3 separate regions of the Homo sapiens genome follow, and regions 1 and 3 are each linked to region 2. Evidence: promoter capture Hi-C in 16 types of primary human blood cells and fetal thymus (Javierre and others, 2016). All regions are on one chromosome and are shown on one strand. The core of a region is centred on a gene start or on the middle of the fragment in contact, and the rest is flanking DNA. Distances in the headings are between cores, read along the strand shown. Region 1 holds the start of THOC5 (THO complex subunit 5). Region 2 holds the start of PRR14L (proline rich 14 like). Region 3 overlaps EWSR1 (EWS RNA binding protein 1).

What was found. The method cuts DNA at HindIII sites, captures the fragments that hold promoters and counts their contacts. A CHiCAGO score of 5 or more calls a contact.
Region 1: a contact is called between a fragment that was not itself captured here and the fragment with the promoter of PRR14L in region 2, in 2 of 17 cell types (non-activated CD4 T cells and naive CD4 T cells). The highest score is 6.8, in non-activated CD4 T cells.
Region 3: a contact is called between a fragment that was not itself captured here and the fragment with the promoter of PRR14L in region 2, in 1 of 17 cell types (non-activated CD4 T cells). The highest score is 6.5, in non-activated CD4 T cells.

Annotation. Positions count from the first base shown.
Region 1 is chr22:29,551,952-29,554,651 of GRCh38, forward strand. It overlaps THOC5 (THO complex subunit 5), which reads right to left and starts at 1,806. Exons shown (of 20, transcript NM_003678.5): 1 at 1,720-1,806. RefSeq lists enhancers at 1-628, 2,026-2,700, 2,107-2,176 and a silencer at 1,517-1,706. The HindIII fragment of the contact is 698 bases long and covers 1,077-1,774 here.
Region 2 is chr22:31,748,760-31,751,479 of GRCh38, forward strand. PRR14L (proline rich 14 like) reads right to left here and starts at 1,373. Exons shown (of 9, transcript NM_173566.3): 1 at 1,234-1,373. RefSeq lists enhancers at 383-1,015, 1,255-1,814, 1,304-1,598. The HindIII fragment of the contact is 5,796 bases long and covers 333-2,720 here.
Region 3 is chr22:29,273,777-29,276,531 of GRCh38, forward strand. EWSR1 (EWS RNA binding protein 1) reads left to right here. Exons shown (of 17, transcript NM_005243.4): 4 at 1-88. Among named protein-coding and RNA genes, the nearest start is that of EWSR1, 6.9 kb to the left of the region's middle. The HindIII fragment of the contact is 2,685 bases long and covers 145-2,755 here.

The DNA of each region.
Region 1 (2,700 bases), core at 176-2,675, 2.2 Mb before region 2:
GTTTTCGTATTTTTTGGTGGAGACGGGGTTTCGCTGTGTTGGCCAGGCTGGTCTCCAGCTCCTGACCGCGAGTGATCGGCCAGCCTCGGCCTCCCGAGGTGCCAGGATTGCAGACGGAGTCTCGTTCACTCAGTGCTCAATGGTGCCCAGGCTGGAGTGCAGTGGCGTGATCTCGGCTCGCTACAACCTCCACCTCCCAGCCGCCTGCCTTGGCCTCCCAAAGTGCCAAGATTGCAGCCTCTGCCCGGCCGCCACCCCGTCTGGGAAGTGAGGAGCGTCTCTGCCCGGCTGCCCATCATCTGGGATGTGAGGAGCCCCTCTGCCCGGCTGCCCAGTCTGGGAAGTGAGGAGCACCTCTTCCCGGACCCCATCCCGTCTAGGAAGTGAGGAGTGTCTCTGCCCGGCCGCCCATCATCTCAGATGTGGGGAGCACCTCTGCCCCGCCGCCCCGTCTGGGATGTGAGGAGCACCTCTGCCCGGCTGCGACCCCGTCTGGGAGGTGAGGAGCGTCTCTGCCCGGCTGCCCCGTCTGAGAGGTGAGGAGCCCCTCCACCCAGCAGCCGCCCCGTCCGGGAGGTGGGGGGCAGCCCCCGCCCGGCCAGCCGCCCCGTCCGGGGGGGAGGTGGGGGCCAGCCCCAGCCCGGCCAGCCGCCCCGTCGGGTCGGGGGTAGGGGGGCGCCTCCGCCTGGCCGCCACCCCGTCCGGGAGGTGGGGGGCGCCTCTGCCCGGCCGCCCCTTCTGGGAGGTGAGGAGCCCCTCTGCCTGGCCGCCACCCCGTCTGGGAGGTGTACCCAACAGCTCATTGAGAACGGGCCATGATGACGATGGCGGTTTTGTCTAGTAGAGAGGGGGGAAATGTGGGGAAAAGATAGAGAAATCGGATTGTTGCTGTGTCTGTGTGGAGAGAGGTGGACAAGGGAGACTCCATTTTGTTCTGTACTGAGAGAAATTCTTCTGCCTTGGGATGCTGTTGGTCTATAGCCTTACCCCCAACCCCGTGCTCTCTGAAACATGTGCTGTGTCCACTCAGGGTTAAATGGATTAAGGGCGGGGCAAGATGTGCTTTGTTAAACAGAAGCTTGAAGGCAGCATGCTCCTTAAGAGTCATCACCACTCCCTAATCTCAAGTACCCAGGGACACAAACACTGCGGAAGGCTGCAGGGTCCTCTGCCTAGGAAAACCAGAGACCTTTGTTCACTTGTTTATCTGCTGACCTTCCCTCCACTATTGTCCTATGACCCTGCCAAATCCCCTCTGCGAGAAACACCCAAGAATTATCAATAAATACTAAAACAAACAAACAAACAAATTTTTAATAAACGGTAGTAGAGGTGGTAAGTTGATCTGGCAAAGCCTACAAAGACCGGACCTGAAAGGCTTAAGTGTGGGAAATCCTGACTTTGGCAACACAGTAGAGTGCCTGGCACACCGAAGAGCACGATATATGTGAGCTGTTACCATCACCACCACCCCCACCCCCATCAGGCTACATTACCACAATCAAGAGGCTCCAACGTGAAGCCTGAGGATGCTGCAGCGAACACTTTTCGGATGAGGTAACAGCGCAGCGCCGAGAGGCCGGGGACCGCGGGTAGTGAGGGAGGAGAAGCCGGGTCAGACCCCAGCCCAGGGGCGCCCTTTGGGCGATCAGCACCTCAGTCCCGGAGCGCCCAGCCCCGCCCCATCTCCCAGCCCCACTGCCCTTGTCCCCTCCTCACCTCACAGCTCCAAGAACCTGGCACCGGGAGTAAGCCACTGCCGGAGGCGGAGCAAAGCTTGCCCGCGCACCATAGAGAACCGGAAGTAAGGAAGGGGCGGCCGACCGGAAGCGAGGCGTAGAGGCCGGAAGCTCAGCGCGGAGGCCCCCGAGGGAGGTGGTGGCGTGGTGAGACTGTAAAAACAAAGACACATGCTTCTCGTTCACTGTGCCCAGGGCCTAAGAGAGTGTCCAGCAGCTAGTGGGCGCTCCACCGAGTAGTTGAATTAATGTTGTGTTATGTCCAAGATAACACGAAAGAACCTGGTAGCGCGGCGGGGAAGATTTCGGCGCTAGAGGATTTGCCTGCATAACCTTACTTCTTAATTATTATTTTTACCATAATATGCCACGCCAGTGAAGGCAACAAGTCAGGGAGGGCATTAACCTCATTTTACACTTGGCTTTTTGAGGAGTGCATCACCAGTTTCTCCATTTTAGGCCTGACTTGCCCAGGACAGAGTCACAACTCTAACGCAGTATTTGAAAGCTTCAGGTATTTCCTACCCCTGGCATGAACTGTACAAACAAGGCCCAGGATTTTTTCGTGTAAATCCTCATCTGGAGCTAGTAACACGTGTCCTGAATCCCTGGTTGTACGGGGCCAGTTCCTTCTCCTTCCCAGGAGCAAGGAGGAAAATACTGGCTCTTTTTTATTTTTATTTTTATTTGAGACAGAGTTTTGCTCTCTCACCCAGGCTGAAGTGCAGTGGCGCAATCCCCGCTCACTGCAAACTCCGACTCCAGGGTTTAAAGGATTCTCCTGCCTCAGCCTCCTAAGTAGCTGGGATTACAGGCATGCACCACCATGCCCAGCTAATTTTTGTATTTTTAGTAGAGACAGGGTTTCACCATGTTGCCCAGGCTGGTCTTGAACTCCTGACCTCACTCAAGTGATCTGCCCACCTCGGACTTCCAAAATGCTGGGATTACAGGCGTGAGC
Region 2 (2,720 bases), core at 123-2,622:
AGGAAGTGCTGGCGTCTGGCATCAGGTCTCACTTTCTCTTAAGAGCACAGACCTGTTTCCAAAAGCTAAGTCTTTTTTTTACTGATTATTTTCAGTGAGGCCCTCTTTGTTAATTTGGGAAAGTATTGAACAGCAGGATCTAAGGGGACTGGAAGTGTCTCTTTCTCTAACCCCTAAGTGGGAGGGAGTCTTCCACTCCAGTGAGAAAGGATGGTTGAACACTTGTGATGGAGGCTGCGAGGGGCATGCATGGAAAAATATGCTTCTCTGTGCAAGATATTAGTTTTCTTTTTTAACAGATTAAGTAATAGTAATAGCAACAGCTTACCAAAAGCTTACTATATAACTAGTATTTACACAAATGCTCCCTTAGCCCGCATGACAATTCTAAGAAAACAGAACCCAAATTGGAGATGGACTGAGATTCAGACAAGTTAAACAAATAGTCAAGGTCACAAAGACGTTAAGTGAGAGACCCAGGTTTGCAACGATTACACTCCAAAAGCCATGCTCTTAATAATGCAAGGGAAAGGAGCTCACTGCACACCAAGAGGCTTAAAGGGAAGAAGAGAAGCGAGGGTCTCTCTGTGGACATCACGAGGGGAGAGGGAGAAAGGTTGATTTCTGATACCATAAAGTAAAATTTCAAGGTCTTCCTCTCCGTATCTTGGGGTACAGGCGAAAAATAAAGGAGGAAGGTAAGTCTCTTTCTTACTGGGAAGAAAGATCCCCTCTGTCACTTTCAGGCAAGTTGGGTCTCACTCTTCACCTGGGTGACGCTGACCAAAGTTGGGGGAAAGGTCTCATTTAGGGGTTATCTTTTACTCCTCCTCAGGATAAGTTCAGAATCCCCCTCGAACCCTGGGAGTGGGTCTCCCTCTGCTGACCAACGGATGAGCGCTAAGAAAGAGCGTACGCCTCCGATAAGGGGCGTCGTCCTCTCCGAGGAGATAAGTTGGGGGATCCCTGTTGTATCGAGGTTGAAGAGGAGTCTCTCTCCCGCGTCGGAGCCATGACTCGGAGAAGCCGCTTTTCTCTAGCGACGCGGGGCCTGGTCTCCTCCCTCTCCCTGGGTCGTTCCGCCGCCCACAGGGCAGCCTTGGTTCCTTTCCGCGCCCCGAGAGGGCGGGGGGCCTGGACTCCCCTTTAGCAGCACCACCCGGCGGAGGGTCCCTTTAGGGCGGAGTGGGGCGGGGCGGCTACGCCCGAAGCCTTCCAGTCCCGGCCTCTTACCCTGAGACCTCCTCCGCGGCCCGCGCTTGCCCAGCCAGCTCAGCCCCTGCAGCTGCAGCCCCGTCGTCGCCAGGTCTACCTGAGCCTACGGAGCCGACAGAGGCCGGGGGCGCTCCGGCCGCCGCCACCTCTTCGTCTCTATGGTCCCCCTGCACTTCCTCATCCGGGGCCCGAGCCAGCCATGCGGACTCGCCCAAATCCCGCCCCCGCACCGCGCGCGCGCACTCCAAGGGAAGGCTCTTCCTGATTCTGACCTCCCGCCCTCTGCTAGCCCCAGCCTCCCTCAACCCCGCCCCTGCGGCTCAAACTCTTAAAGGGAAACACAACTTTTGGTTCTGCTCCTGCTGAGCCACAGGACCCAGTGCCGGCCTTCGCTGCTGTCACCCTGTTCCAGTCCACCGTTTTTCTAGTCTGGACGGCTACAATTCTAAGGGCCTGCCTGCTTCCACTCTGGCAGCCCGAGAGATCTTATTCTACTGGAAAGAGTGTTTTGGGTCATGACACTCCTCTGCTTCTTCTAATCACACTGACCACTAAATAAATGGCACCTCTGCCTCCAGTTGGTTACAGAACCTTGTTTTATTTTCTTCATAGCTTTAACACTAGCTGAAATTTCTATGTCTCATCTCTTTATTGACTTGTTTATCATTTATCTTCCTCCACCTTGTCTGTTTTGTTCATCACTTAATGCTCAGCACCAAGAGCAGTGTCCGGCACAAAACTAGACGCTCAATGGACATTTGAAGGAAGGAAGAAATGTTTATCCAGTGGAAGAATTGAGGTCCAGATAATGAAATCGACTTGCCCCAAATAATACGGCTTTGTGTTAAAAAATAGAAATCGACCAGGCGCGGTGTCTCACGCCTGTAATCCAGCACTTTGGGAGGCGAAAGCGGGAGAAGCACTTCAGCCCAGAAGTTTGAGACCAGCCTGGGCAACATAGTGAGACATCGTTTCTGCCAAAAAACAAACAGCTGGGTCTGGTGATGTGTGCCTGTAATCCCAGCTACTCTGGAGGCTGAGGCAGGAAGATCACTTGAGGCTGGAAGGTTGAGGCTGCAGTGAGCAGTGATAGTGCCACTGCACTCCAGCCTGGATGACACAGCAAGACTCTTTCTCAAAACAAAACAAAAATTGCTCAGGTGTTGATGCACCTGTGCTCCTAGCTACTGGGGAGCCTGAAGCAGGAGGATCGTTTGAGCCCAGGAGTTTGAAGCTGCATTGAGCTATGATGGTGCCCCCACTGCACTCCAGCCTGGGCAACAAAACAAGACACTGTCTCAAAAAAAAAAAAAAAAAAAAAAATTGAATGCTTCAAAGTTTCGTTTCTTTCTTTCTTTTTTTTTTTTTTGAGACGGGGCCACGTTCTGACACCAGGCTGGAGTGCAGTGGTAGGATCTCGGCTCACTGCAACCTCTGCCTCCCAGGTTCAAGAGATTCTCCAGCCTCAGCCTCCTGAGTAGCTGGGATTACAGGCGCATGCTACC
Region 3 (2,755 bases), core at 237-2,736, 2.5 Mb before region 2:
CCCACTGATGTCAGCTATACCCAGGCTCAGACCACTGCAACCTATGGGCAGACCGCCTATGCAACTTCTTATGGACAGCCTCCCACTGGTAAGGCCTGCCTTGGAGAGATTTTTGGGTCGTTCTGGCTAGGGCATTGGCTAAGAAGCTTATTAGTCATGCTTTCGGATGTATATTCTGGTCCATACCTTGGCATCTGGGGAATCCTTTATTCTTAGGAAGAGGTATTTTTTCTCTTTCTTCCCTACTCTTATAGTCTTGAGAGATCTCCAATAGAATGTGGGTGGGATAAATTCCAAGAGAGAAAAGAACTTTTAACTGTTTGAATAATCTCACGATGAAATGGAGACTATGTAAAAGATTTTGCTAATGCTAATACTGAGTAAGAATGAGTCTTCTTAAATTGAGCTGCTTAAAAATCAAACTGGTTTTCACATGTTTGCTTCATCTGATAGTGTACCCTCTACTTTTTGTTTTGTGCTTTCCACAGTAGAAGGGACCAGTACAGGTTTGACTATCCTGCTCATTCTTGCATGGGAAATGCTTTCCATCTTGTCTAACCCTGTAATGTTAATCCTTTAGGTGTTTTCATTTGTTGAACCCCCAAACTTTCTAACATCACACACAGCAAGGTGCTAATGAAAAACTGCTTCAGGTGCCATTTGCAGATCCATGTCCTATTCTTTATATGATTTTGGGAAAGGTTTTTTTATTTAATATTACTTTGTTTCAAGCCTTAATAATAGTTATTTACCTTCCCAAAGGTATTTCAGGTGATTTCTCCCCAGCTGATTTTCCCCTGTTCCCTGAAGGATAGATTGCATGATGAGATTTATTTAGAGGAGCAGACTGCCACCCTGCATGTATCATGTTTGTCTATTGGTTGGTTTCTAGTCCAGACACATTTTATTTTCTGTTTTAAGTGTTATGAATTATTTTAATCCATGGTATGTCTTGAATATATATAACATTATTCCAAGATACTAAAAAATAAACTATTCTAAGAATTAGAAGAAATTGTATTCCGATACTGAGGTTGGGTGGGATACATGAAAAACCTATGATAATTTTTTTGTGTTCAGTGCTGTGTAATGTTTCAGGCTGTCTCCCCCTGCCCTTTTATTATTGCTGTTATAAAAGACTCTAATAAAGTCTTAAAGATATCAGAGCTCTTATTTTCAAACTGTCTTTAGTTCTCCAAATTATATATAGTCCAGTTAAGGGGAAAAACCTGTCTGTAATTTATCTCATTGAGTACCAGTGTCCTGATTTTGATGGGAAGTAATTCCTAACCTCTTCTAGGGTGTTTCTCAAATAGGATGGGAAATGTTTATCTAAACTTTCTAGTGGTGTTAATTGCAGCTGTGGGAAGAGCTGGAACTAAGGTTATGCAGTTTGGATTTTTTAGCATAGAATTTTGAAATTGTGAGATAAACTTCATGTATTAAAGCCATTACATTTTTTAAAACAAGCATGATGTGAAAGTTAATGTGGCCTAGATCTAGCCTTCCGAATCCTTAGATCATTTTACAGGAATGAGACGGAGTGATTTATAGGCAAATTAATGGTTCTCTAGAGCCATGTATCACATTGTCGTTGGTTGAGAAATCCCCATCATGACTGTGGGCCTAAAAAGTACAGGTCATTCTAGTTTAGAGACTAGTAGCTTTGATGAGCTGGAGATTGCACTTAGTAATAATAATGTTTGTATAAAATTCACAGTTTATAGAGTGGCCTTCTTGTCTCCCTTAATCCTCCCAAGAACTTTTGGGGTATAAAAACACCAAAATTAAGCCTGATGAGCAAACTGTGTGAACAAAACTTAGCAGGAGCCTAATTGGTAGTGCGTGGGTTCAAGCACACATGCTGCATTTTTCCTTACCTCATACTGCCTTTACACATGAAAGTTATCGGATAGTCATTGGAGGGAATACATAGAAATACACTGTTCTCTTCTAGGATTTTTAAAAATTAAACTTCAGAAGAAAGGGGTTATATAAACCTCAATTCAATGGAATTCTTAAAAACTTCTTAATTTTTACGTTGAACAAAAGTTTTGGTTTGTGTAATATTTCTTACCACCTTTTTCCTTCAAGTTGTCAGCACATAGTAGGTGTGTTTTCTTTTTTTGCCACTGGTCTTTTGTTTTTTTGTTTTTTTGTTTTTTTTTTGGTCATTAAATCATTTTGCTCTGTTGATTTTTGTTCATTTTGCTTGGCTGCTTTTGTGGGTACTACAGATTAATTAAAAGGTTATTTATTAACCCAGTGTCTATTGCTGTAATCTTTAGCATGACAAGGCCCTAACTGTTGCTGCATAGTTTTATGACATGAGTTATTGCCCTGATCACTTTTAGTTTTTTGTTTTTTTAATTGCCCTCCTTGTAAATCTTATAGACGTGTCATGTAGTGGGGTGTAATCGGTATATGAACGGTAGGGTAGATGGTATTAGATTCTAATTTAAATAAATGAATGCCTTATGTGGTTGACCTTAGGACTCTGCAAAAACTTAAGCAGTTCAGATGAACAACATGCCAACTCAAAAACTTTTATTGCTTGGGGCTTCCTGTTTTCTGGAACTATGTATACTTTCATACACATTTTAACTCAGCAGTTTTGACAAGGACATTACTATCTCTGTGTATAATTTCAGAATTTCCTTTTAATATTTGAGGTAGAGAAGAAAGAGTATTATTATATTCTGTGCTACAAATGGTGATTGTACAAAAGGAAGCTGATACTTGTTTCTGGCCAGTA